Regions from separate parts of the Homo sapiens genome. Here regions 1, 2, 4, 5, 6 and 7 are each linked to region 3. The links are contacts of gene promoters, found by promoter capture Hi-C in blood cells and fetal thymus (Javierre and others, 2016). All regions are on one chromosome and are shown on one strand. Each heading gives the region's core, a stretch centred on a gene start or on the middle of the fragment in contact. The rest is flanking DNA. Distances are from core to core; before and after follow the strand shown. Region 1 has its middle 23 kb from the start of FAM13B. Region 2 overlaps KLHL3 (kelch like family member 3). Region 3 holds the start of PKD2L2 (polycystin 2 like 2, transient receptor potential cation channel). Region 4 has its middle 25 kb from the start of WNT8A. Region 5 overlaps KLHL3 (kelch like family member 3). Region 6 overlaps KLHL3 (kelch like family member 3). Region 7 overlaps FAM13B-AS1 (FAM13B antisense RNA 1).

Region 1 (4,071 bases), core at 1,211-3,710, 170 kb before region 3:
AGACCCAGTCTGCGTGAGTATCAGCATGTGTGTGAATGTACCCTGCAACAGGATGGCATCCTGTCCCGAGCTGGTTCCTGCCTGGTGCCCTGAGCTGCCAGGATAGGCTCTGGCTACTCAAGACCTTGAACTGGAATAACTGGGTAATAATTATCTCACTTGTTTTGATGAGTCTTTCTTAAATGTAGGTAGAGCTCATATCTATCTTAAATTTTCTTTTTCTTCCTTTTTTTTTTTTTTTTGAGATGGAGTCTTTCTCAGTCACCCAGGCTGGAATGCAGTGATCTCAGCTCACTGCAACCTCTGCCTCATTCTCCTGCCTCAGCCTCCCGAGTAGCTGGGATTACAGGCATGCACCATCACGCCCTGCTAATTTCTGTATTTTTAGTGGAGATGGGGTTTCTCCATGTTGGCCAGGCTGGTCTTGAACTCCTGACCTCAAGTGATCCACCTGCCTTGGCCTCCCAAAGTGCTGGGATTACAGGCATGAGCCACCATGCCCAGCCTATCTTAATTTTTTATATTAAAAGTGTTTTGGTCTTTATTTCGAAGTTTGGTGATGTTTTTGTGACAAGAAATATGCCACAGGAACTTACCTCTTTTTTGTTTTTTTTTAGACAGGTTCTTCCTCTTACACCCAGGCTTCAGTGCAGTAGCGCAATCATGGCTCACTGCAGCCTTGACCTCCCAGGCTCAAGCAATCCTCCCACCTCAGCCTCTGAAGTAGCTGGTGCTATAGGTGTGCACCATCATGCCTGGCTAATTTTTTGTAGAGCTGGGGTTTCACTATGTTGCCCAGGCTGGTCTTCAACTCCTGGGCTCAAGTGATCTTACAGCCTCAGCCTCCCAAAGTGTTGGGATTACAGGCATGAGCCAAAGTGCCCAGCCTTAACTCTTGTTTATACCAATTAGCCTGTGGTAAAATTGGTTTTGTTATACATCATTTCACTTAAAGTCACAGTTTCCAAGAAACTATCACTGATGTTAAGTGAGGACTTACTGTACTTCACTAAAAAACAAAACAGGCCGGGTGCGGTGGCTTACGCCTGTAATCTCAGCACTTTGGGAGGCAGAGGCGGGCGGATCACAAGGTCAGGAGATTGAGACCAGCCTGGCTAACACGGTGAAACCCCGTCTCTACTAAGAATACAAAAAAAATTAGCCGGGCATGGTGGTGGGCGCCTGTAGTCCCAGCTACTCAGGAGGCTGAGGCAGGAGAATGGCGTGAAGCTGGGAGGCAGAGCTTGCAGTGAGCCGAGATCATGCCACTGCACTCCAGCCTGGGCGACAGAGCGAGACTCCATCTCAAAAAAAAAAACAAACAAATCTTTGGTCAGGAGTTTGAGACCAGCCTGGCCAACATGGTGAAACCCCATGTCTACTATAAAAATACAAAAAAATAGCCGGGTGTGGTGGTGGGCGCCTGTAATTCCAGCTACTTGGGAGGCTGAGGCAGGAGAATCTATTGAACCTAGGAAGTGGTGGTTGCAGTGAGCTGAGGTTGTGCCATTGCACTCCACCCTGATCAACAAGAGCAAAACTCCATTTCAAAAAAAAAAAAAACAACGGTGCTTTTAAGCTTTTAAAAAATCACCACCAACAACAAACCACAACCCCCACCACCCCACAATATTTTGGTCAATTTTAAGTTTAAATCAATTTAGAATAAAAGACATAATAATGTTCCCAGAAAGCCTCTGCCTATAGTATGGGCATAGGACCTCTTTCTCAAATACTCAGCTCTCAGTATTCACAACTACAGTTATCTTCACGCCTTGTTTGCAAATTAGCTCTTAGCTCAGAGCTAATAACTTTTACTTGAGGGAATCAAGTCAGTCTTAGATGTCTTCTCTCCCTTGACTTTAGTCACCAAGTGCAATTTTTTTTTTTTTTAATAGAAAGGGTCTCACTCTGTCACCCAGGTTGGAGTGCAGTGGGGCAGTCACAGCTCACTGTAGCCTCAATTTCCTGGCCTCAGGTGATCCTCCTACCTCAGCCTCCCGGGTAGCTGGGACTACAGGTGTGTGCCACCACACACAGCGAATTGTTTTGTATTTTTTGTAGAGACAGAGTTTTGCCATGTTGCCCAGGCTGGTCTCGAACTCCTGAGTTCAAGCGATCTTCCAGTCCTGGACTCCCAAAGTGTTGGGATTACAGGTGTAAGCCACCATGCCTGCCGCATAGTTTTTGAAGCATACAACAATCTTTTGTCTTGGTTCTGTCAAATACAGAGTTTTGATAGTAGGAAGACAGGTTTATTGAACACTTTATTCATGAAGCAATTCAAGTAATAAATTCAAACTTTTGTCTGCTATTTGCCTTTTTTAAAAAATTAGCATATCTTTTGGCAGTTTGCATTAAAAATAGAGGCTGTACCTATGAGGATAACCTTAAAAAATAAGTTGCAAAAAACAAGATCAATTTATTGCCAATCTTTCCCAAGGTGTTTTAATTTTTATTATTCTTTTTGGTCTTTGCCCCTCTGACAATTCCATGGTAGGTAGGTTTAGAAAACGACTGATAATTCACTCTGCCTCTTCCTACGTAACCCATATTTATCAGTCTGTTGCAGGTGGCTCCATTTTGGTTCAAAAGGCACTGAACAATTTTGGGGAGAGGAGATACAAACTTCCTCATAACCATTGTATAGCTACCTATGCCTAAGAAAAATGTTAGGGAAAGGTCTATTGTTCCCCATCTACCCCTTTTCCTAATTTGAAAACAAGGAGCAGTAGGGGAGGGAAGGGGTCCCACATGGAGGTCTATGTTCCTGACAAGGGTTAATTTACTAGCGTGCAAGCCTCGTCCAGAGTCATTGCAGCCAATGGGGGTTCACTCTGATGAGGTAATGCTTTCAGCCCATGTTTCATTGGTTTCCCTTCTCATTACTTGGCGTTCTCTCAGAGGCTGGGAAGTGGAGAGGGCTAGTTTTAGGGCTAATAGGAGCTTTTTCCTCGTGACAGGTACAGGTGGTGCTTACAGAAATGCTTGGAGCCACGGGGGGAAATCTGTTTCCTCTTCTCAGATGTCCTGCATCTTGAACCAGTTCTTCTACCTGGGGCTGTAAGGGCATCTCCTAGTCTGGCCCTTATCCCCATTCGTCTGTCAGCTCCCAGGGTTCTCAGGAATGAGAACGAGTGAGAGGAAGTTGACTTATACCCTGAGGAGCCGGAGCTGAAAGGAAAGCCTGCCAGTCCTCGGATGAATACATCCCATTACGTTTGTCAGCCTAGGACCTTTGAATCCAGCAGCCCTTCGCTTCTGAACCCTCTTTGGCCGGGGAGCAGTAGCGCTGGCTGTGAGTCAGGCTGACTGCCTCTATACCTCCCCTACAAAGCTTGAGGGGTGATAAGGAAAACTGGGGCTTCCTTCCAGTCATCTTTCCTCTGTCCATGGTCTTTTATTTTGCTTACCTCCATTGTGGGAAATTGTGTTGTCTGCACTGTAGTGGCCCATATAGGTCCTTTGACAAGCAAACAACTGTTTACTATGTCTCTGAAAGAACTTGGAGAGCCCTCGGCCCTGCTTTTTTTTCTCTCTCTCTTTTTGCCCTGCTTTTACATCAAGATCTGTATCAACTTCCTGGCAAGGAGGGAGAAAGCACCAGATTCTAGGCTGTGTGTAAACAGGGAAACTGAGGCTGGGAGGATGAAGTAATTGTGGATGAAGTGGGGATAATAGACAAGTGCTTGTCTCTGACAACCAGCCTGATTTTTGGCCGTAAACTCATGCTTCTTTTTACACGTTTGAGAATTAGACAACAAAGAAGCAACAGGGTATATTCAGTATGGTTGAACTCTCTGAAGTTTTTCAGGTCTGACTTATAAAGAAGAAGTGGACATTGTACACATGAATAGGACTTTACAACCACGTGGGGGAAAATTAGTAGAGGCTTCTAAGAGAGAACTGAAGCAGAACAGATTCTGTGGGCTCTGAGAGCTGAGGGAGACAGCATTGCAGAGGTGAATGGGCTGCCTGGGTTGCTCTGTAGAGTAGATGATCAAACCAATTTGAAACAAAATTTAGCTGGAAGCATCAGTCCTGCTTTTCATGGTTGAACTTCACAGAAGG
Region 2 (3,870 bases), core at 1,144-3,643, 230 kb after region 3:
GCCTAGCAGCCCAGCAGCCCAGCTCTTGTTACTTTCCAGCCATATAATACTGGGTACATGCTTAACCTTTTTAAACCTCAGTTTTCTTACCGGGAAAAAATGGCACTTGCCTTTATAGGATTGTTTGGGGATAAACAATAAAATGAGATAATCCATGTAGGCCTATAATACAGTGTTCAGTGAATGTTACTGATCTTACTCTGTAGTCTTTGTGACCACTGCTGTGATTCTTAGTAGCAGGTGACACAGTATCCTCACGAGCACTTGTAAACTCGTCTGCTGGTAACACTTGTAGATTGCAGATATGAGGGGTCAGTGAAATGTTCCCTGAATCGCCGTACTTCAGCCTTCTCAGGTGCTGAGGGATATGCTTGCAAGCTCTTAAATGGGGCATGCATGCTACTTTGGGTGATACCACTGCCACCTGGTGGCAGCATATCTTTCCTGTAGAAAAGGTCCCCTAAGCGGAGGAAGTGAACTTGCCTGAGCATCCAGTGTCAGTCAAACCTCCCACTGTCCTGTGGGAAGCTGGCTGGAGGTGGAGGAGGCACCTGGACTCCAGTATAGTCTCGCTTCCACAGGGAGGGTTGGCAACCTGGGGACCTGGGTTCCAGAGAAAGCTAAAGTGGCCTTAGAGACCGTTGGTCACAAACTTCATCAGGCATCCACAACTGAAGCTTAACAAACGTCACCATTAGGAAATGGCTCCTGGGTTATTATGCCAAAGCAGAATTTAGATCTGGAAAAGAAGGGGGTCAGAGGCAATGGGCATGAGAACTGTTGTGTGGGACTCCTCCCTTTGCCCTTTTTGCAGAAAGGCCTTTTATCAGGCCTCTCAGAGTGAACACCTCTGGAATAGGATGTTTCATTACATTCATTTGACTTTGAAACTTCAAATGAGTATAATTGCTGGGATGGCTGATGGTGGTGGAGGAGGAGGAGGAGAAGGAAGGGAAAGCCCTGGGCAGACCTCCACCAACACTGCCTGACTTCTGGGGGAGGTTTTTTTTTCTTTCACAAAAGGTAGCATTTATTAGGCTTTTACTCAGCATTTAAAAATATTGTACTAAATGTATAATATGTTGTGATAAAATGTTTATTACATAAACTTTGTTATTTTAACCATTTTAAGTGTACAATTTAGAGGCATTCATTACATTCAAATTCAGTACAACCATTACTATAAAGATTTCCAAAACTTTGTCATCACCCCCAAAGTTGAAACTCTTGTACCCATGAAGCACTAACTTTCCAGGAGAACTTTTAATTCAAGCTGAGTAAGTTCTTCTGGAGAAATAGCTGCTCATGCATTTCTCCTTCCTTCCAAGCTTTTTCAGGCATCCTCTCCCACCCTTTTTATTTTGTAATTGACCCTAGAAGTTTATGATTTGTCTCAAGCTGGCTCAGTTCCTTACTGGGAGGGGAAAAAAAAACCTTCCAAGGAAAACAGTTCTTGGGGACTGTCTCTGGGGAGGGAGGTGGTCAGAGGTACACAGAGGCCTTCTCTTGCCAATCCTTTTTTCCCTGCCAGCTCCAATGCTGCCCAGCAGATGATGGCCCTGGCCATGCTTTCATTCCTAGTGACAGATGGGGACCCAGGAGAGGCTCAGTCATGCCTTGTGCATCACTGACTTGAGGGCTGAGATAATTGAGGTGGGAGGCCCTTCTCATTCTCTGACTGGACTTGAATTCTTCAGGGTCAGAAATTTTGTCTTGTTCATCATTTTCTTCCTGGGGACCAGCACAGGGCTGCCCAACCAGGAGACATTCAATCAGTGTTAGCTGTTGAATGGAATTGATCTTTCCTAACACAAAGCAGCCCCAGAAGACCACATTACCCATTCCAGATATGCCACACAGTGATCTGACCTGGGCCAAAAGGTGGGGATTGGAGAGTTAGAGCACCAGAATGGCTTCATGCTTGGTCTTGCTCATGAAACCTTTAGGCTTACATGTGCTGAGCACCTGCTTAGGTCCTAAGCTCTGGAATAAGAGATAAAGAAGCCAGAGCCCCAGCTTAGATGGAGTCCTAGGTGAGGTCAATAGGTGGGACTTTGTGCAGGGTAATTTTTCTGCTCTGATGTTGTTACTCTGTTAGAAGGAGCCTCACTGGCCGATTTTCTGCCCTGAGACCTTCACTATAAGACAACGAATATGAATCTTTCTCCTTGACAAGCTTATTTTACTCAATGCCTCCAAAGGTTGGCTGATGGCTCCCACACCCTTTCCTCTTTCCCCTCACTCCTCCTCTCAGATGTCTGTTTGCCCTAAGCATTATAATGCATTCAAATCAGGAGAAATGTGGTTAGAGGCTTTCAGGATGGCTACTTGTCTTTTGTTTTGCATAAACTCATTTAAGCCTCAAAACAAACAAAACTAGTGAGGTTGTAGATACCTTTAATATGCCCATTTTACAGATGAGGAAACTGAGGATCAGAGACGTTAAGTAGTGGATCTGGTCTAATGCCAGAGCTTGATCCCTTATCCCACTGTGCTCTTAAAATGCAGGAGGTGAGCAGTAAGTTGTAACTCTTTGGGTCTGAGATGATGTGGTGAAGGAATGAATGAGTGTGGGAGTGCAGGAATGACTGAGCCCAGGGTGAAAGCTTGGGAAATGTGGCTGAGCTGTGCTCCAGGATCATCTGTGGATTATTACCTCTAGACGGTTGAAGAAGAAGCTTTGATAAAGAATAACAACACCTGTAAAGACTTCCTCATTGAGGCCATGAAATACCATCTCCTCCCTCTGGATCAGAGACTATTGATTAAGAACCCAAGGACCAAGCCCAGGACTCCAGTCAGCCTTCCCAAGGTAAGCCCCAGCCCAATCACCACCAAGAGTCAGGACTGTGCCCTGGGAAAGTGGCCTTCCACTCCTGCCTCCAAGTCTTTCCTCACCCATGGCTGCCCTGCATCTTGGTTGCATTTACAACCTAGGAGATGGAGTCTGCTGGTTCCTCTTGAATCTGCTGGTACCTCTCTCTTCTGGGGTCTTCCTTTCCTAAGAGTTTCAAGGTAACCTCCAATGTCATCAGGGAGGTTTGAGAATAACTCAGAGCTCCCTCTCACCCCCACCCTGACTTCTCATTTCACACCATGGCTTGTGCTCTATTTCTGTTGGAAGCAGAGGAATGGCTATGTTGGTTTCACTTAGTGATGGCCATAGTAGTCCTCTTTCTAGGCCATTCTTTGAGTCAGAATAGTCCTAGTCTGTTTCTTTTCCCCACTCAGGGAAGGACATAAAGGACAATTAGGGCTGCCCCAGAGAAGAAAAGGGGTTCTAAGAAAAGGGACCCTGTCAAATTGAGGAGTTTGACAGGTCACGAAGCAGAGGAAGGAAATGGGAGAAATGAGAATTTGTGAGGGAGCAGCCAGGGAAAGGGAAGGAAGACACAGGAGGGGACCCCATGATCTAGAGACCTAGAGTTTATGGTGTGTGCTGGCTGCTTTGGTTCCCTGCGAGTCTTCTTTCCTCTCTGACCCTCAGGCTCCTTATCTATAGAATGAGGGATGCTCCACTCGATCCCTAAAGTCCTGTCTGGTGTGGCACCAAAGTAGTCGTTTTAGGAGTCTAACATGCTGATGTCTGGGGGAAGGAATCAGTCAACCCAGGAGGAAAGGTGGGAGGAGAGGAGTGGGTCGTGTTGTCTCATTGATGACACAGTAGGCAGCACCAGGAAATTATTTAGGCCCTTGCTTTGTCCTCCTCCTCCTCTTTCCAGCTGGCTGCCATCCTCCCTGCCTGCTTCTTCCAGGAAGGTTTCACAGTGGCTAGAGGCATGTTGTTTTCCAAGACCAGGTGTTGGAATTCTCTGAGGTTTGCAGGACCTTCTTTCCCCTCTGCTCCTTGACCTTGGATCATGGGGAATA
Region 3 (3,845 bases), core at 1,346-3,845:
GATGATGCACACAGAACATTTTAAACTGTGTTTTGGCACATGATGAGTTTTTAAAAATATTAACTAGTGGCGGGGCGTGGTGTTGCACCCATAATCCCAGAACTTTGGGAGGCTGAGGTGGGTGGATCACCTGAGATCAGGAGTTCGAGACCAGACTGACCAACATGGTGAAAACCCTGTCTCTACTAAAAACATACAAAATTAGCCGGGCGTGGTGGCACAGGCCTGTAATCCCAGCTACTCCGGAGGCTGAGGCAGGAGAATCGCTTGAACTCAGGAGGTGGAGGTTGCAGTGAGCCACTGTACTCCAGCCTGGGTGACAGAGCGAGACTGTCTCAAAAAAGAAAAAAAAAAGAAAAAAAATCACATTATAAATGGAGATTCAGGTTGCTGTATTATATTAAAAAAAGTGTTCTTTAAAAATCTCTGAATAATGGGATTATAAATGATCTTTTTACTTACATTTTTACATTTTCCAAATGTTCTGTAGTAAGCATGTAGTTTTCATAACCAAGCTTTTATAAAGCAGTCTAAGATATCTTAATTTATAAAGTTGCCTACAGTTATCTTTTTTTTTTTTTTCCTTGGGACAGGGTCTCAGCCTGTCACCCAGGCTGAAGTGCAGTCGTTGCAATCACAGTTCACTGCAGCCTCGACCTCCTGTGCTCAAGCAATCCTCCACCTCAGCCTTCTCAGTAGCTAGGACTACAGGGGTGTGCCACCACACCTGGCTAATTTTATAGTTGTCTTTTCAATCAAGAGCAGACTCAAACTCACCCCTACAACACCAATTAATTACTTAATTGCTATACAATTGCCAGTGTGTAGCACATACCAACATGAGACAATACTGCCAGTGAGCTTTCATCTACTGTTATGTTGGGTGCCATCGACAAATGCTCTTTAATACTCCTCTTTGCATATTAAGCCAATGCTATTGACCCACAGGTAGGAGGAATGCAGGTTGAGATGTTTTCCCAGTCCTCCTTAATTATTTGCATTGACTCAGCACAAACTATTTTTTTAACTGCAATAGGTCAGTGAAAAGAACCAAGCTAATGGCAGACACCAAGATGAACTTTGGCCTCATTTGTACTTTGATTTATGAAACTCAGCTGATGTGTCTATATGACTCTAAACAAAATCAAATTGCAGTTGCCAACCCAAGGGATGAATTATGCTCAAGACAGAACTGCCAAATGAAAGGAATAATTCTAATTCAGTCAGTATTGACTATGGAAGCTTCTTACATTTGCGATGTAAAATTTTGCCCCTTAAGAACTGAAAATAGTCAATTTCTAAATGAAATGAATCTAAATGAATTTAAGATTATGTTTAAACGTGTCACTGTATTTTGAGTTTTAGTAGCCTGACAGCCTGTGGTTTTGAAGTTTGTATGTTTTATTTTTCATCTCCACATTTTAACTTCTTAGTTCAAACAAACAGCATCTTTATATCTGTGTACTTACATATACATAGGTTTATTAAAAAAATAAAGTAGAGTAACAATTCCTGAAGTGTGGTTGTAATTTCTACTTCCTTTCTGTAATGCAACTTATGTTTCGAAGCCCCTGTGAGATATAAGACAAAATTTTTCTTTACATTATTATGTAATTTATAAGTGACAACAATGGAAAAACCACAGCCACTTTTAGTCCTTACACTGCGGGGAGGAAAGCTCCAATAGCTTCTGGCTATTTTTCAATTCTTAGTTTTACGAGGCAGGGATAATTTTTTTACTATATACTATTAATAACAGATTTTTTTTTTGAGACGGAGTCTAGCTCTGTCGCCAGGCTGGAGTTCAGTGACGCGATCTCGTCTCACTGCAGCCTCCGCCTCCCCGGTTCAAGCGATTCTCCTGCCTCAGCCTCCCGAGTAGCTGGGACTACAGGCGCGCGCCACCACACCCAGCTAATTTTCGTATTTTTAGTAGAGATGGGGTTTCACCATGTTGGCCAGGATGGTCTCGATCTCTTGACCTTGTGATCCGCCCGCCTCGGCCTCCCAAAGTGTTGGGATTACAGGCTTGAGCCACTGCGCCCGGCCACTAACAGATTTTATATCATGATGTCTTCTCGCCAGTCTTAAGATGAAAAAGCAAAATACGAAACAAGTAAAACCTCTCATCTGTCCTAACCGTTTTCTCCACCCTCAATACAGCTTCTTGGGAAGGCTGGTTTCTGCTGGACAGGGGAAAAACACCTCGGCTTGAATTCTGTCAAGGTCACGACTCCCCAGATCAACCAAGGACTTTAGAGACCGGCCTAGCGACGGTCACTCGACAGGTGACAACGCCCAGCTCGAGCCTCCGGCAAGAGGCGAGCGCCACCTCGCTCAGGGCTTCAGTTTTCCCGTCTGTGCAATGGGACCATCTGTCCCTCTCCGCTTCCCCAGGGGAGGCTGTGAGGGCTAAAGGTGTCGGCAGTCACATCTCTCAAACGAATTTGGGGCCGCAGAGTTCCTTTCAGGGTGTCTGGAACTGCCAAATCGCCCCTGTCCCTCCCACTCCTTAAGAGGACCCCTCACCGCCTCGGTGCCACCGTGACGCCTCAGCCATGGCGGACCTGCACTACACCGCCCGTTCGTTCGCCTGAGGCCGCGGCGCTTGCGCGCTAGTCTTGCGGCGCGCGCTGCCCGGCTCTGACGCCTGCGCGAGCCCCCAGCTCCTCCAGGGCGGCGAGCTACTCGACAAGTCGTCAGCGCGGCTGCGCCGCAGGAGCCCGGGAGGCCTTTCGCCCGAGGCGGGCTGCGGGCTGCTGGGGTCTGGTGCGGAGGGCCAACTTCTGGGAATAACCTGGCTGTGGGCTTAAAAATCGTAGTCATTCATTATCACGGGCTTCTCTCTCTCGAATACCTTTAACATTTATCGCCTTGTTAGTCTCCACATCCACCTCCGTGAAAGGTAGGTATTTTTGTCCTCATTTTAGGCCTGAAGAAACCGAGAAGCTGAGAAATGAAGTAATTCACTGGAAGTTGGGGCCAAGTCTTGGATGCCCAAGCCCAAATTCCTAACCGTGACCCTACGCTGCTGCTGCTGCTGCTACTTGCAGAAACTGGTTATTAACCGAGAGCTGTTGCTGGAAGTAGCTTCCACTCCCCTGCCCCCGTGATGTAAAAATAGATGAAAAACTCTGCAGTGATTATGTGAAAGGTCAGGCCGACACAGGAGTCCTGGGGCCCAGACCCACATCTGACCCAGAAGCTTTGCAAAGATGAGAAGGTTGGTAAACCAGCTATAGAAAAGGCCAAACTAATTTGGCTGTAAATTAAGGCAGCCAAAAGCCCTCCAGGATGTAAGACCAGGACGGATTCTCGTGTTGATAAAAAGGAAAATAAAATGGAATCCAGTCCAAAGGCCCCAGGGAAACCTGCAAAGAAAACCACTAACCAGTTTTGAAAGTAAAAGATAAAGCCACTTTTGTTATTTCCCTGAAAGAGATGTAGACTGCTGTCGATAAATGCTGTTTTATGTGTAGATAAAAAGCAAAACGGCCACACAGTAGTGAGGGTCAAAAACTACCATCGATGAGAGGAACAGGAGAGGCCTCGCAAAAGGCTGACAGCCAGTGAACTAGAAGCCCGAGAGGAAAAAAAGCTTTAGAATAGTTTTAACAAAAGGATTTGGGCTTTCCTGTACTGGGACTCTCAGCTGTTCACAAAATTATGCTTTCTAAAGTAACAGATTATCTGAAATTGAAATTATTAGAGGAAAAACACCCATATATAGGTAATCAAATTTACATAATTTTTTTTTTTTTAGAGATGGAGTCTCGCTATATTTCCCAGTCTGGCCTCAAACTCCTGATCTTAAGGGATCCCCAGCTCAACCTCTCCCAGCAGCT
Region 4 (3,846 bases), core at 540-3,039, 220 kb before region 3:
AGAAAGTGGAGATGACTAAATAAAATGATACCTCTTCCTTTCCTGCTTCCAGGGTGATCCAAGAAATTTCTCTCTCCCCATCCAAATCAAGAGTTGATGACACTGCTGTGACTGATGCCTTTTGTTCCCAGACCAAATTGTTTTTATTGCCTACCCCCTGCCGGCACTTTCCAAAGCACCACTGCCATCAGCTCCAGAGGGAATCCCTTCCTCAGGCGTCCTGGGCAGCAGCTGCAGGGTGATGGCAGGGAGCACAGAATGGGAGGAGAAAGCAACTTGCAGACAAATGGGCAGCTAATCAGACCAACAGCCCAATCACTAGACCCATAAAAAAATTCCATTCCCCACCTCCACTAACCTCATCTGCATTTTTTTGGCCAAGGTGGGGAGAATGCTCCTTGAAAAGTTATGCTTCATAAGATCTATCAAAGCAGGCTCAAATTACTGCCCCCCACACCTTATTCTTTCTCAAGCCAATTGTGCTTATTCAGCCGAATAGTTGTCAAATCACTACAGACCTTACAAATACTAAAAGGACAATTGGGGAATATTATGAACAACTTTATGCCAATAAATCGAACAAATTAGATGAAATAGACAAAGCCTTTGAAAAATGCAAACTACCAACAGTGTGTCAACCTGAAGCACAATTTCTGGGTCTTCCTTTTAAACTCTTTGCAAAGTTTGGATCTCTCTCAATTTTCAGGATTTTTCATTTTAAAGCAGCCTTACTGAGCTTACTTAATTAGCATTCTCAACTGTTCTGCTAGGAGCTGGTTACTTCTCAATACAAGTTATCTAATTGTGGGATGGAGAGGGTTAAGCTATTTTATAAGAATAAGCATCTCCATCTTGAGGGGGAGGATAACACATCTTAATCAGGATTATAAAATCCTGATCCTTCTGGGCGGCCTTTATGTTGGGGCCAGAAGGACAGCCTCTCTGAACTTTAGTGTTTCTGGTCCTTGCCACTGTGAGAACATTTCAAGGAGTCTTTAACATATATATGTGGTTAGAGTCTTCTTGTACCATAAAATGGTTAGACAAGGACCAATATAAAGCAGTCAGTCTGCAATGAGGTTGGAGCTTTAGAGATAAGCACATCCTTTTCAGTGGTGCTTGCTTTTATAATGTGTCATTTAGCAAATGGACTGTGAAGAATTAGTCATGCCAAACTCCTAACCATCTGATGACTGGATATGGACTAAACATCTCAGATGAAAATGTTTAGACTTTAAGCCTTCAGTCTTTCAAAGCTCAATTAAAATAAAGTACTATATCTAATTTAAGTTCTAGTTTAACTTAGCCTGTTTGCAACTTTTATAGATACAGGTTCAACATGTAAATGGCAAACCATTATCAATTCCTTCATGCTTCTCAGGGATGATTTAAGAAAATGTAATATTTGAAACTGTTGTCATCTTTGTGGTGAGAAACAAATATGTATCCTAAATTAAATTAAAATGTAATATTATTAGGGTATTGTCCCCTTGGTGAAATCATATTATTATATCTCTCTGTTGCTAAAATGGAAGGTGCCAACCCGAACACACTATTGTGTGTAGGAAGTCAGACTTTGTTTAGCTTCCTGTAGATTCTGGGTGCCCCCGTGCCCTCCTCCTTCAATTCTTCGGTAGCTACCTGGCTCTAAGGCCTGGCTTTAAGTTCTCCTAAGCCATCTGAGCTGGCCTTTTCACTGGATTCCCTCCCTTTTTCTCTTCATGTAGTACTTTTCTCTTCTTCCTCTTTATAGCTCTATTCTTTTTAAAGCCTCTTCATCTTTTTTCCTGCCCTTATCTTGATCATTTCCCTTTATATTTAGAATGCTTCTGACCTCCACATAACTGCTATAAAGATTTTGAAATGATGAAGCATGTCACAAAGTAGAGGAATTTTTTTTTTGTGGGCCGGGGGGACGGAGTCTTGCTTTGTCGCCCAGACTGGAGTGCAATGGCACAATCTCAGCTCACTGCAACCTCTGTCCCTGGGGTTCAAGCAATTCTCCTGCCTCAGCCTCCCGAGTAGCTGGGATTACAGGCACCTGCCACCACACCCGGCTAATTTTTGTATTTTTAGTGGAGATGGGGTTTCACTATATTGGCCAGGCTGGTCTTGAACTCCTGACCTTAGGTGATCCGCCCACCTCAGCCTCCCAAAGTGCTGGGATTACAGGCGTGAGCCATTGCATGCGGCCAAGTGGAGGGATTTAAAACAGTATACTGGCCGGGCGCGGTGGCTCACGCCTGTAATCCCAGCACTTCAGGAGGCCGCGGTGGGTGGATCACGAGGTCAGGAGATCGAGACCATCCTGGCTAACAGGGTGAAACCCTGTCTCTACTAAAAATACAAAAAATTAGCTGGGCGTGGTGGCGGACGCCTGTAGTCCCAGCTACTCGGGAGGCTGAGGCAGGAGAATGGCGTGAAACCGGGAGGCAGAGCTTGCAGTGAGCAGAGATTGCACCACTGCACTCCAGCCTGGGTGAAAGGGCAAGACTCCGTCTCAAAAAAAAAAAAAAAAAAAAAAAAAAAAAAAAAAAAAAAAAAAACAAATAAAAAAAAATGCAAAAAAATTAGCCGGGCGTCATGGCGGACACCTGTAGTCCCAGCTACTCGGGAGGCTGAGGCAGGAGAATGGCGTGAACCCAGGAGGCGGAGCTTGCAGTGAGCCGAGATCGCGCCACTGCACTCCAGCCTGGGAGACAGAGCCAGACTCCATCTCAAAAAAACAAAACAAAACAAAAAAAACCAACAGTGTACTAACGCGATTTGTTGCTGTTCCAGTTGGCCATGGGACTCAAGTTGAATGGACACTTCCTGTACTGATACTGAAAACAGATCCTACATCCTATGTCCGTTGAGTAACTAGGTTTGAAATTAATTCTCTCTACTTTGTGACAATCAACAATTACTTATTGAGTATCTAGTGTGTAGCTGATATGGTTAAAAAAATTATATTTATGTTAGTCTGATATTCAGGGCTCCCACAGACTGGCCAGTGCTTATCTTTCTAATGCTTATTTTTCTAAACTAATCTCCCCCGTACCTGCCTTTATGGACTCTGCTCTAGCTAGAGTGGTCTGTTTGCTCCCTTGCTCATTCCCGTCTACATTTGCTAAAGCCATTCTCTTCCTTTGCCCTTGCTCCCCAACATCACAAACACTGGACGACCCTCCTCTTTCTGTTTATACAATTTCAAGCCTATAAGATAATTTCCTGTAATTTTGCTCTAATACATGCTTATCTCTTATGCCTGTGAACTACTCATACTTAAATTCTGACTTGGCTTGTAGTTAATATATTTCCTTGACATAATGTGCTGGACAGTACATTATGAAGTAGTTTAACATTTGGCCTTTGGAGACAGCAAAGCAGTTTTTACAAACATTTATGTATTTTTAAAGTGAATTATCTGGTAACCTCCCAAACAAGAATAGGTTCGTTCAGTCTCCCAACAAAGCAGTTTTTATCATGACTCCATGACTTCCTAGCTCTGTGACAATGGGGAAGTTTGCTTAATCTTGCTGAGTCTCAGTTTCTTCATCTATAAAATGGGGATAATGGTAGTTCCCATCTCACAGAGCTGTTGTGAGTACTAAATGTGATAATATATGTAAAAGTATATAACAGTTCCTACTGGCAAAGAGGAAACATTCAGTCAACATTAGCTGTTATTATTTCCCTTTAGTATTTTTACTTAGCTTATTTATATATGGATTATGTTCCCATCATTAATGGAAAGATTACTATTTGCTGTTATTCATTATATGCCAAGCACTGTACTAGGCACTTTTTTTTTTTTTTTGAGTTGGAGTTTTTCTCTTGTTGCCCAGGCTGGAGTGCAATGGG
Region 5 (3,870 bases), core at 1,284-3,783, 200 kb after region 3:
ACCCCCCCACCTCCCTCCCGGACAGGGCGGCTGGCCGACCCCCCCCCGCGCCTCCCTCCCGGACGGGGCGGCTGGCCGGGCAGAGGGGCTCCTCACTTCCCAGTAGGGGCAGCCGGGCAGAGGCGCCCCTCACCTCCCGGACGGGGCGGCTGGCCAGGCGGGGGGCTGATCCCCCCACCTCCCTCCCGGACGGGGCGGCTGGCCGGGCGGGGGGCTGACCCCCCCCACCTCCCTCCCGGACGGGGCGGCTGGCCGGGCGGGGGGCTGACCCCCCCACCTCCCTCCCGGATGGGGCGGCTGGCCGGGCGGGGGGCTGACCCCCCCACCTCCCTCCCGGACGGGGCGGCTGGCCGGGCAGAGGGGCTCCTCACTTCCCAGTAGGGGCGGCCGGGCAGAGGCGCCCCTCAGGGAGGTAATATTTTTAAAGTAGTATAATGCAGAAGATAAGGCCATGATGCAAAGATGTTAGAAGAAGGGAATGAAGGTTAGATTGTGCAGTATTTAGAGGAGAAGTAGAAAATGATTATCCATGCTTACTCCCTTGAACCCACCCACTGACGTGGGCCTGCTTTTTTCCTTGTACCCCTGACTTTAGATGGAGCCTGGGGTTCTCTACCATTGCTGCCTCTTGAGACAGACCTGTGACCTCACTCTACTGTAAGTGCAGGGGTGCAGGCACCCACTAGGGTCACACACAAGGGAAAGCATTGGTCTCTGTGGTCACAGGTCTCCCTGGACCCAGGCCTTGAGTTAGAAGGTATTTCATGCCAACAAACTACAAGGAGACCTTCCAGATCAGAACTAGGAATCAGACCAGCTAACACTTTGGAGCTGAGTAATCCTGAGCCTATTTTCTTCTCTCTATCATGGGAGTAGCGCATCCTATCCTGTTTCCAGGATGATCTGGGGAACAGGGGGAATGGGGAGGAGAGCATTCTATGGAAGTAGACACCACAGGCGCTGTGCTGTGGAGCCTCCCTGCCAGCCTCATCATCTGCAGTGAGGGAGCTTCACAGTTGGGTCCAGGCAGGAGACACAGGAATCCTCAGGTCACTGCTGCTGCAGACCACATGCACTTTTGGGGAGGAAGGATTTCCAGGACTTCTGGTTTTGTTTTCTCTTTATCTAGATGTATAGTGCAGGCAGGTATGTCCTGTCCAGCCTCCCCTACTCTTCCCAGTTTCTGGCTAGCTTTGCTTTGCCTTCACTTGTCTGTAGATTCCAGTTTAGCTGCTGAATTCTGTTTCTTTTCCTTCTCTAAAAAGCTTTCTTTTTCTGTTGTTATTGTTGTTGTTGTTATTATTGCTATTTTAATAAAAACTCATCCCTGACTATTACAGAAAAAGCACATGGGTGGAAAGAATTATACCACAATCCTACCCAGAGAGAACTGCTGGCAGCACCTTGATGTATATCCTTCCAAATCTTTTTCATTGTATATGTATGCTTTCCAGCTTAAAAAACATTTTAGCCAGGTACAGTAGCAGGTGCCTATAGTCCCAGCTACTTGGGAGGTTGAGGTTGATAGCTCAAGCATTCATGTGTAGCTTGAGCCACGGAATTTGAATCCAGCCTGGGTAACATAACAAGACACCCCATCTCTTAAAAAAACATTCTTAGCAGTATATTCTGAATTTCTTTCCATGTTAGCAGATACATTTCTAGACCATTGTTTGAAACATTTAGGTAATATATTCAATAAAAGCAATTTATACTCATGACCAAAAAATGCAAGCAGTACATAGAGGTATAAAATGCAAAGCCAGTCTTCTCCCAGCCTGTCTCTCTGAAGTGGGGAGATCCTTGGTATCCTTACAGAATTTATATATTATGCTTTTTAACTTACACAACAGAAAGCACTCTGTACTCGTTGTACTTTTGTTTGACAATACAAATCTTGCAATTATTTCCACACCCTTGTGTATGGCTATATCTTATTCTTTTAGTCTGCTGCATCTCATGGATGGAGTATAATTTATTTAACCAGTCTTCTGTTGATGGACATTAATGTTTCCAGTTTTTTTATTTAAAATGCTTCCATGAGAATTCTTGTACATAATATTTTGGAGTACACTTGCTAGTATACCTGTAGGGTACAATCTTAGTAGCATAGTTGTTGGATCAAAGAGAATGTACATTAAAAAGTTGTTTGATAGATTTTGCCAACTTGCTGTCTAAACAAATGTGACTTTATTTTAAAGCCAGTCTTGCCTTCTGATAGGTCCTCGGCTTTTCCAGCGAGAGCACAACTTTGTGGGGGCTGAAGCATCATCTCTATGTCCAGCTGCCTATTTGGTTTCCTGTTTGGAAGGGCCCTGTCTCTTCCTGCTGTGGCAGTCCCTCCTGCTTCCTCTGGATTCAGTTTCCCCCTCAGGGAAGTTCCCCAGATCTTTGCTATGATATATGTTATTCTGGGGTAGGGAGGGTAGGTCCCGCATTTAGAAGCTGACTGCTCAGACTCTTGCCTTAGCTAGTGGCATCACAGTCTTCCTGGGCAACTAGTAGCTGGGAAATGGACCCCAGTGTCTTTCACAGCCTGTTTCTTATACCTCATTATTGTTGTTTCCAGGGACTGCTTAATCTTTAACCTCAGAGGCCAGGGCCTAGGGTTATGGGGACTTTGTTGTTTGGTAATTGGACAGCCATACACTGGGCCATCAGCAGAGCTGTTTGGGAGGGATGTTAATGGGACTTCATTAATGAAATAGCAATTAAAATTCTTTGGACATGTTGTTTACATCAGTCTGCCAAAGCTAAGCAAAAACCTCCAGCCATGGGATGGAAAAGCCATTGGATTTCACGTGCTTATGGAGAGAAATGGCCTTTTTTTGATTGATTGAGTCATTTGAGATCATGGAATGAAGTAATTAAGGCAGCAGAAAAATTTGGAAAATCATTAAAAAACATAAATCTCTGACTCAGTGAGAGTCCTCTTCTAAAATTGCTGCTCCTAACTTGTCACCATGAAATAATGATGATCATAATGATGGGCATTTCTATCATTTTTGAATACTTGCTAGGTGCCAGGAATGGTGCTACATGATTCATAGGCATGGCCTCATTTTGTTCATTTAAGTATAAGAGTTATTATTTTCTCAGCTTATAGGTGAAGAAACTGTAACCCCAGAGAAGTTTAGTAACTTGTCCAAGATCATATATTAACAGCTTATAAGTGGCAGTGCCAGAGTGAGGCCAGCTGACTGCAGAGGTCTGTGTCCTAAGCCCCGCTACTTATTTCCCACCCACCCAGACCAGCCTAGCCTATTTTCTATGATGGTTGCCTCACTCCTGCCTCTCTTGGATTTTCTGCATCTAATTTGAAGTTGGCAAATGAGGCAGTCGTGCAGACACAGATAGGTTTCGTTGCTTGCTCTTTGTTAGGATTTTAGGAAACTTCACTTGTTCCATTTTCTGGGTTATGGGGAACCTCACTGTTGAATCAATAGCACTATTATGGCCCTTGGCTGTGTGTATGTGTGTGTGTGTGTGTGCGCGTGCATGTGTGTGTGTGAGAGAGAGAGAGAGAGAGAAAGAGAGCTAGAGAGAGAGAGAGAGAGAAAGAGAGGGAGAGGACAACACATAATATTTCTGGAGTAAGGCAACATGGAAAGAGAGCTTATTTCCTGCCTTCCCAGGGAGTGTGGAGGTAGTAATATTTAGAGTCTGAGGGCTGGTGGTCATGACCCTTCTGAGAAGAGGTCAAGGTGGGTCTCTGTTACTTCCCTGTGGGAACTGAGCCTTTTCCCTAGAGCAGAGAAACTGTGAGCCTGGAAAGCTAAATATTGATTCAAGGAAGCTTGCCTCTGGCCTCTAAAAATAGAGTAATAAGGGGCAGAAGAGAGAGTTTTAAGGCAGTTCTGTGGTTTTGTT
Region 6 (4,121 bases), core at 303-2,802, 250 kb after region 3:
TATGAGCTCAAAGCCAAGTTTGTTTTGAAAACCTTATCTTGTATTCTATTTTTTTTTTTTTTTTTGAGACAGGGTCTCACTCTGTTGCCCAGACTGGAGTGCAGTGGTGCTGCAATCACAACTCACTGCAGCCTCAAATTCCTGGGCTCAGGTGATTCTGCCACCTCAGCCTTCCAAGTAGCTGGGACTACAGGCATTCACCACCACACCCAGCTAGTTTTTTGTATTTTTTGTAGAGACGGGGTTTCACCATGTTGCCCAGGCTGGTCTTGAGCTCCTGGACTCAAGAGATCCACCCGCCTCTGCCACCTAAAGTACTGGGATTACAGGCATGAGCCACTGCACCTAGCTGTCGTGTATCATTTTTGTATTTCTACTCAGGCTTTACTTTAACATTAAAAAATTTGCATTTCTGTAATACTGTTTCTGTGAAAATTCTCAGAGATGAGTGGTAGATTTTCTCCAATATGCATGTACCCTCTACTTCCCTGGTGGGAGATAGTTTCTGGGGCATGGTGAGGGTTCCTGAAAACTTTGCCTTTTTTTTTTTTTAATTTACAAAAGAAGCTGGATAGCTTATGCCAAGTATAAGCAAACTTTCTTTTGGTGGTTGAGTCAAAAGATGGGAAAAGCTCTCACTTTCTCTTTTTATTTTGCTTGCTTTTTCCTCACTGTCTCCAGAATTTTAACCTGGTGTTCCAACATATTTTAACTAAAGAAAATGACGTTCTAGTTTAGTTTCTTTTTTCATTTTTAAAAACTCTGTATTGTTTGTTTAACTCCTTGCATGTGCTATTTACTTTTTATTCATGTATTCTTTATTCCAAATAAACACTTGAGCCCTCACTTTTACCTGGCAACATAAGTATATGGAGTTATCTTGGTGACTGAGGCAGATACGTTTTCTGCCTGGGCAGGGCTCACTGTCTAGAGGTGCAAAAGACAAGACACTGATGGTCCAGCACAATGCAGAACACACAGGGCAGGTGAAATCTCAGAGGACGGATATGTAGTTCTGACCTGGAGGCCAGGGAAGTCCATTTGTAGGAAATAACATTTAAACTGAGACCTGAAAGATAAGCAGGTGTTAAGGCAGAGTGCTCAGAGATGGGAAGGTTTCGAGTCAGGGAACAGCATGTGGGAGGGTGTGGGGTGCCTGAAGTCCTTGCAGAAAGAAAACTTAAAACTGCTTTTATTCTCACTCAGCTTCAGAAATCAGATTTCAAAGAAAATCCTTGCAGTATTTTCCTTCAGTTTAGCTTTACCAACTCAAAACCGGAAAGACAATGCAAGTTCTGGGCATATTTACGAACATGTCATTCTGCCCTTGAAGAGTAGGTTAGGCATTATCTGGTGTTTGCCAAGGGGCTGTGTTCATTAACATCCCCCTTGAACTGTTCATGGATGCCTGTCTAAGCAAAGAATTACAAATGGGAAGTAATGTAGAATTCATGTTTACTCTGAAAAAGGCTACTCTTGACACAGAGCAGTGGACCCTCTGAGCTGAGGCACCCAGGAAAGTCAAGTTTCTGTCTGGAAGCAGCAGCAGCAGCAGCTCGAGGCTGGGTTTTGTGTCCTGGGTTCCTTTGGAATGCTTTAGAAGTCAGAACTGATTTCTGAATTTTTGAACACTGGTTACCCACTTTTGGTGACAGACAGCTATGGACTAAGTCTGATGACCAGTGACCACCCACATGGCAGTGGGTGAGCCTGTTCTGGAATATTGGGGAATAAATGGTTGATCTGTAGTAATGGTGGTGAGCTCTGGTTTTGCCTCCCGTATGGTGGGAAGTGTTCACTTGAGGGATGTGCCTTTGCGAGTTCACACAGATTTTGATGGGCACTTCTCTCCCCAAAAATACATCATGGGGAAGTAAAAAGCACTATGATAATTCATAATGGCAAAAGTTGTTCATGGCATATCATCAGGAAATCCATACAGAGCATGGATTAAAAAGGTGGTTCTCAAAGTATGAACCCTAGAGTGGCAGCAGCAGCAGCACCTGGGAACTTGTTAGAAAGGCAGCCTCTGGGCTCCACTCCAGATCCACTGAATCACACTCTGGGGATAGGGCCCAGCAGCTTGTGTTTTCACAAGTCCTCTAGGTGATTCTGATGTATGCTCAAGTTTGAGAACCACTGGGTAAATAAGACAAGCTACAGGTAATGATCAAATGAATTTGCTGGTTGTGACTTCCACCCTTTCTCTCCACTCAAGAAAGCATATTGGAATGCCGTTGAGTGAGAGTGACATCATTGTGGGGACAGCTATGAATTTGTACATGTTTATTAAAATATGTAAACTATAGGTAACTGGTACTTTAATTTTTTATTTATTAATAACATGTGACCAAAGACACAGCAGTGATACCATAATTAAGTACTGCAGTTCTATTAACCTAACCAGAGCAGTAGTTTTCATTGTGTTTGACCATGCCCTTGCAATACAAAATGCATTTAAATTGCTATCCAGAAGACACATGTAAGTGTGTATAGCCAAAACCAATATTTCATGAAATAATATTCTTATCATATTTTCTGTGCTTTTAAAAATATATGTGCTGGTCATAATCCATTAAATTGATTTCATGACCTACTAATGGAAAGCGACCTGTGTTTTGACAAACATAGATGCAGCAAGCTGTGTTTGCTTGGATCCTGTCTCTAGAGCAGGAGTTGGGGGGGGTGGCTGGCCTCACCCTCTGTCAGGTAGACTTGGGTTTCAGTCTCTGCCTACACTCTTAGCTGTGTGACCTTGGGCCACTTACATGTGTTCTCTGAGCTTTACTTTGCTATCTGTCAATGTGGATGATGATATCTACCTCACAGTTGTGGTGACAAGTAAATGACAACACATTTCACATGGTACCTAGCAGTGGTAGCTACTACCTTACTTGTGGAAATAGGACTGCTAGCACTAGTTTCCAGAACATCATCAGTTTAATAACTTTTGTAATAAACATCTCACAGGAGTTTTTCAATTTTTTTCTATACTGCAGTGCATAAGTGCACCCTACATTCTAGGCATTCAGAAATGCTTTTGAGTAATACTTTAAAACATACGTCCAAATTCTGAACTCTTTTTCAAAGTATATTCAAGTTTGTTTTGATATAAGATTTAGCACCCCCCATTCCCAATCTGAGGGCACTGAGATTACAGATGATGCCCTGTGCGGCTTCACATACCCACAAGATAGCCCCGAGTGGGGCATTTGGGAAACAGAACTTATGACTGTGTTTCTGTGGGAAGATGCTTGTTAGACTTTTCTTGAATACTCATACCTGTTGGTGACCAGGAGCAGCATCCCCATGTATGTAGCTCTGTAAACTGGCATCTCAGATCATCCACACACCCTGGGCGATAAGCCATGTGGAAGTACCAGGGATACCATAAATCCAGATTTTGGGGTGACCCCGCTAACGTCCACTTGTCTCTCCGGAGGTCATGATTGTGGTTGGCGGCCAGGCACCCAAGGCAATCCGCAGTGTGGAGTGCTATGATTTCGAGGAGGACCGGTGGGATCAGATTGCTGAGCTTCCTTCCAGAAGATGCAGAGCAGGTGAGCAGCCTCCCAGTTCTGCAAGCTGTTTTTCCCCTGCTGGTCCCCACTCCGTGCCAGAAGTCGTGAGCTACTCCTTGTTTCCTCAAGCATCTGTGCATTTCAGGCTCCCATTCGTTTCCCTCCTGCACACTTTTTTTTTTTTTTTGGTTGTTGTCGTTGTTTTAAGACAGAGTCTTTCTCTGTCACCCAGGTTGGAGTGCAGTGTCATGATCTCGGCTCACTGCAACGTCTGCCTCCTGGGTTCAAGTGATTCTCTCACCTCAGCCTTCCAAGTAGCTGGGATTACAGGCGTGCACCACCATGCCCAGCTAATTTTTGCATTTTTAGTAGAGACGGGTTTCACCATTTTGGCCAAGCTGGTCTTGAACTCCTGACCTCAGGTGATCCACCTGCCTTGGCTTCCCAAGGTACTGGAATTACAGGCGTGAGCTACCATGCCCGGCCACTTGCACAGTTTTTGGCTCTTTTGGGGTCAGTTCTTATGAGCTTGGGGAGTTAAAGCTGATTCAAATATTTACTTGAATCAGACAAAATTAGAAAAGCAAGTAGGAAAGAAAT
Region 7 (4,392 bases), core at 1,726-4,225, 150 kb before region 3:
AAAAAATACAGCTGTAGTTAAACTGCAAACTGCAAACATTGGCGTTGTCAGTTTGCCACAGAAAATGTGGTCTGAATGGAAGGTGCCTGAAGGCTAGGCATGGTGGCTCATGCCTGTAATCCCAGCACTTTGGGAGGCCGAGGTGGGAGGATCTCTTGAGCCCAGGAGTTAGAGGCCACCCTGGGCAATGTAGTGATAATACGTCTCTAAGAAAAAAAAAAAAAAAAGCTGGGCATGGTGGCACATGCCTGTAGTCCCAGATACTTGGGAGGCTGAGGTGGGAGGATTGCTTGAGCCTGGGATACTGAGGCTGCAGTGAGCTATAATTGGGCCACTGGACCCAGACCCTGACTCAAAGGGGAAAAAAAAGGTGCTGAGAAGCAACTTGGCTGGTCAAATGATAGGAAGGCTCAAAAGCCTAGAGCCTGTAAGGAACAGGTAGGATATGCAAAATGGTGAGACCCTCCTGCCTAGATTTCTGGTTAAAAAGGCAGCAGAAAGTTCATGATTTTGTGAAGGTCATAATCTCACTGAATCTCAGAGCAGTTTTTTCTTTCCCCTATATGGATACAGGCAGAGGGAAGAAGAGAAAGGGATATTTATTCTTTGTTATTTATTTATTTTCAACAATAAAAGTTCTGATTGTGGAAAAAATATCTAGCTGATTATAGGAATTTAATAAAGAAACCAAAACAAATTAGTCTTATAGCTGATGATAGTATTGGCCTACATTATTGTCATACACTGAATTCTGAGTTATCAGGCCAAATATGTGGACTTGGCAAAGATGAGACTTACTGTTAATTGTTCCAGCTCTCCAAACTGGATGTGACTGGCACCAGTGGCTATATGAGTGAATATAGAAGCTGAAATCCACATTATGTTAACTTTGGTTCTATTCCACCAAAATATTTTATTCCAGAGATATGTAAGATGAAGCTTTTCCAGGGCAGAGATCATGATCATATCGCCTAGCACAGTGCCTGACCCATAATAGCTGCCCAAGAAATATGTGTTGAATAAATAAATGGCACAAAGGTTATTCTGGGTTGCTAAGATCAGAACAGTATTTGCCATTATTTTGGAGGTTGGCGTGGGATTTGTACACCCTGGAACAGTTTCTTCTCTTTGCAGCTAGTGATATTTTTCTGTTTATGAAAAACACACATTCTTGCACACTGGCACAATGGTCCTGGGCAAAGTGGCACAGAAAGATTTCCACTCCATTTCTTGGAAGAGCCAGCAATACATCTCTCTAATGGTGAGTTGCTTCTCTTTTACCAGAGGATTTAAATTTGATGTGTTTTTAGTTCTTCCTTTCTTCCCAGTAGAGGAGACTACCTCAAGGAGAAAATTCATTAGCTGAGTTTGACTGAATTTGATAGCATTTTACTGCTCTGTGAGAATCAAGAGTAGTCACAATCTCATCTCCATATGCACTTGTTTTTCCCTGCACACAAGACTGCATGTAATGATGGCTTCCTATCTGTATTTACAGTCATGTCTTGTTCTACAAATGGGCAGTGTAAATATGCTTCTAATTGGGGAAGAGATGTGCTTGTATTTACTGTAACTTACAAGGCTCAGAAGATCTTAAAACCAGCACCGAGAGTTTGGGGGAATTCTTAGTGGTTCTTGGTTTTCATTTACAAATAGATAGACAAAGATTTGGCAATTTCTGTCAAGAAAGGTGTTCACACTGGGCCTCATTCCTGGCAATAAATCCAGATATGAAAGCAAGACATTTTCAGGTTGTTCTCTAGGCCTCTGAATGCAGTATAGGAGAGGGAACTGAAAAAATTGTATATGGCTAATAAAGCACTTTTATGCATACCAATTCATTTAAGTCTGTTTCCCTATTTGACTAATGGGGAATCTAAGGTACAACTAAGTTAAGTAACTTGACCAGAGTCAAAAGGCTAGTAACAGGGCTAGAACTGGAACTTGGAATGTTTGTTTTATCTATTTTACTTTTAAGTGATAGAATTGGTGGGGATAGAATATATCTTTTTGGCTTTTCTGGCTAGGGTGGCTCGTTTCTTATTAACATCGTATTAAGAAAGACAAGGCAGCCTTGACTGAACTCAAGTTAATCTATATCCCAGTACTCAAACAGCCTTGCTCAGGGAGATCAGTAACGGTAAGGAAAACACCTGATTAAAAGTTTCCTTACTGATGGTGCAAGGGAAGGGCTCAACATCCTGCTACATCTGGAAGAGATGAATTCAGTCAAACTCATGTAAAGGATGGAAGAACCCATTTGCATTCTCTGTGAATAATGAGGGCATTATTAGCCATCTGTAAAGTAACTGCAGAGACAGCTACTTCCTGACTTCAAGTCTCATTCCAGTGACACTGGTGACCTTGGGGAGGCAGATATGCTGAGGTCCTCCCTGGCATCTAGAATGCAGTCCAGGTTGTAGCAAAGATATATTCCTTCCACAGTGATGTGACTCATGACCTTACTTCTGAGAGGCATAATGCCTCTGTTCAGATAAGCTGGGATAGAATGCTTGTTTTCCAGGCTTAAAAGTCATCTTGCAAATAAATAACAATTTTATCTCAAGTAGTAATTTTCCTGGCATGGCCTCATCTCCAGAAGGAGTCTTGGAAACACAAAGGATTGGTCTATACCAGTCACTTCTCATCCTGGCCAAATAGCTATTGCAAATGCTATTTTTGACTCTATTGATATATTGAAATGTGACGTTTCCATCTACAGGTAAAGAATTTGTAGGAAAAAAAGAAGAAAAAGTGATGTAATTTTGAAGTATTCTTTTAGTGAGGTATTCTCTCATCTCTGTAACAAACAGAATTGCTGTTCTTTGCTGTAGGGGCTGTCCTGTGCCGTAAAGGATGTTTACCAGCATCCTTGACCTTCTCCCACCAGCCAATAGCACCTCTCCAGTGGTGACAATCAAAAATGTCTGTATTCAGCAGATCCTGAATTCAGAAGGAAAAAAAAAGTTTAAAAAAAAACCAAAAATGTCTGCACACATGGTCCCCCAAAATTGTCGCAGTTGAGAACCACTGTTTTAACTGAAGCAACAAGATTATTATAAAAGAAACCATCTTCTTCCCTCCATCCACCAAAAAACTAAAGTAATTTCTGAGATAGACCCCCTCTAGAAATTTCAGAGGATTTAGACAAAGCAGGTAGATTAAATACTCAGTTATTTAGTTATAAAAGGCCAAACCAGAATTATTGAGGACAATGTCTTTGGAGACTGTTGCTGGTGAGCTGTGATTCTTACCACAGGTGCCTGCCTGCCTTTTACTTCAAGTCGAGGGAGTGGGCCTTCAATGGATCTGCTCAGAGCACTTGACTTGTACCTCCTGCAGTCTGAGGGGCACCGTGGGCCTGTGTCTGACTCCCACAGGCTGGCGGCTGTTTTGGCAGCAGAGTAGAGGAATGTTGAATCTGCACTGGGATTAGCCTGTACTCCCAAGTTTGTTCGGGCAAGAGGTGCCTGAGAGCTTCCTGTGGACCAGGTGTGGGCCATACAGAGCTGTCACTAGGCTAACACAGCAGCACCATGAGAAAAAAGCTCTCCTTCGTCCAGACGCTTTGCTTCCATCTATTGGGAAGCAGTCGTTGTAATTTAGTTTGGACAAAACACTTTACTGCCACCTGCTGGAAAAACATTAAAATAAATAACATACAGAACTACAGTGAGAATGATGTGAATGGCACCCCCTAGGGTACGGAGTGCACAACCTTGTCCCACAATAAAGGGTCACTTGCAAATGGACGAGTGTGAGAGTCATCTCAGATCCTATCTGACAGGGCCTTTACAGAGATGCCCAGGTTTCAACAGACAAGTAGTTGGAGGTGCGTGGAAAGAAGTAAATAACTGCCAAAATAGCTTTACGCTTAGACCAATAGAATTATGGGGGAGAAACCACCAGAGAAGGGGGATGGTGGTAGTCTCTGAGGTATCCATGAAAAAATAAGTCAGCTTTAAGCATCTACCATGCCCAGGGAATGTCAAACCATCATACAAAGTTAACAACTTTCCTGCTCCTTTTTCTCCCTGCCTTCCCCAGATTTGGTTATGATTAGTTAAGCCGGGAGGAGAAAGACTAGGCAGGTTAAAGATGACTATGGTCCCCTCTTTAGGGCAAGCAATGAGACAACTGTTCCCAGCTGAAAAAGAGGAAAACATTTCACTCTTTGTGACTCAATGACAACAGGACTCTATTCCTAAGGAGACCACAGAACCCCTAAAAACTCATGGAACCTGCCTGAGTTTTCAATTAGGTACATGACAGATCTACTCCCACTGCACAAATTGAAAGGCATGGCAAAAGATACAAAATAAAAGTGTTTGTTTTGAATTATAGCCCATGTGGCCCCTATGTTGAACATACTGTTTTTATATTATCAAGTAG

Evidence for each region. The method cuts DNA at HindIII sites, captures the fragments that hold promoters and counts their contacts. A CHiCAGO score of 5 or more calls a contact.
Region 1: a contact is called between a fragment that was not itself captured here and the fragment with the promoter of PKD2L2 in region 3, in 1 of 17 cell types (naive B cells). The highest score is 5.2, in naive B cells.
Region 2: a contact is called between a fragment that was not itself captured here and the fragment with the promoter of PKD2L2 in region 3, in 6 of 17 cell types (naive CD4 T cells, naive CD8 T cells, total CD4 T cells and 3 more). The highest score is 7.5, in naive CD4 T cells.
Region 4: a fragment that was not itself captured here is called in contact with the fragment with the promoter of PKD2L2 in region 3 in 1 of 17 cell types (M2 macrophages); the score reaches 5.8 in M2 macrophages.
Region 5: a fragment that was not itself captured here is called in contact with the fragment with the promoter of PKD2L2 in region 3 in 2 of 17 cell types (M2 macrophages and naive CD8 T cells); the score reaches 5.4 in M2 macrophages.
Region 6: a contact is called between a fragment that was not itself captured here and the fragment with the promoter of PKD2L2 in region 3, in 1 of 17 cell types (naive CD4 T cells). The highest score is 5.1, in naive CD4 T cells.
Region 7: a fragment that was not itself captured here is called in contact with the fragment with the promoter of PKD2L2 in region 3 in 4 of 17 cell types (total B cells, naive B cells, total CD8 T cells and 1 more); the score reaches 6.0 in total B cells.

The regions. Positions count from the first base shown.
Region 1 is chr5:138,054,217-138,058,287 of GRCh38, reverse strand. No RefSeq gene overlaps it. Among named protein-coding and RNA genes, the nearest start is that of FAM13B, 23 kb to the right of the region's middle. The HindIII fragment of the contact is 1,758 bases long and covers 1,582-3,339 here.
Region 2 is chr5:137,657,073-137,660,942 of GRCh38, reverse strand. KLHL3 (kelch like family member 3) reads left to right here. Exons shown (of 15, transcript NM_017415.3): 8 at 2,663-2,812. Among named protein-coding and RNA genes, the nearest start is that of MIR874, 11 kb to the right of the region's middle. The HindIII fragment of the contact is 430 bases long and covers 2,179-2,608 here.
Region 3 is chr5:137,888,207-137,892,051 of GRCh38, reverse strand. It overlaps PKD2L2 (polycystin 2 like 2, transient receptor potential cation channel), which reads right to left and starts at 2,595. Exons shown (of 15, transcript NM_001300921.2): 1 at 2,530-2,595; 2 at 1,470-1,571. The coding sequence starts at 2,560. It overlaps PKD2L2-DT (PKD2L2 divergent transcript), which reads left to right and starts at 2,733. Exons shown (of 4, transcript XR_948815.3): 1 at 2,733-2,905; 2 at 3,764-3,845. The HindIII fragment of the contact is 1,963 bases long and covers 1,245-3,207 here.
Region 4 is chr5:138,107,098-138,110,943 of GRCh38, reverse strand. No RefSeq gene overlaps it. Among named protein-coding and RNA genes, the nearest start is that of WNT8A, 25 kb to the right of the region's middle. The HindIII fragment of the contact is 5,133 bases long and covers 1-3,846 here.
Region 5 is chr5:137,683,426-137,687,295 of GRCh38, reverse strand. All of the region lies in intron 5 of KLHL3 (kelch like family member 3), which reads left to right. Among named protein-coding and RNA genes, the nearest start is that of MIR874, 38 kb to the right of the region's middle. RefSeq lists silencers at 2,342-2,636, 2,611-2,856. The HindIII fragment of the contact is 2,531 bases long and covers 1,268-3,798 here.
Region 6 is chr5:137,639,299-137,643,419 of GRCh38, reverse strand. It overlaps KLHL3 (kelch like family member 3), which reads left to right. Exons shown (of 15, transcript NM_017415.3): 9 at 3,443-3,560. Among named protein-coding and RNA genes, the nearest start is that of MIR874, 6.3 kb to the left of the region's middle. The HindIII fragment of the contact is 6,724 bases long and covers 1-4,121 here.
Region 7 is chr5:138,035,435-138,039,826 of GRCh38, reverse strand. FAM13B-AS1 (FAM13B antisense RNA 1) reads right to left here. Exons shown (of 2, transcript NR_037900.2): 2 at 894-3,634. It also overlaps a transcript of FAM13B not described here. Among named protein-coding and RNA genes, the nearest start is that of FAM13B, 4.6 kb to the right of the region's middle. RefSeq lists an enhancer at 3,359-3,568. The HindIII fragment of the contact is 4,067 bases long and covers 942-4,392 here.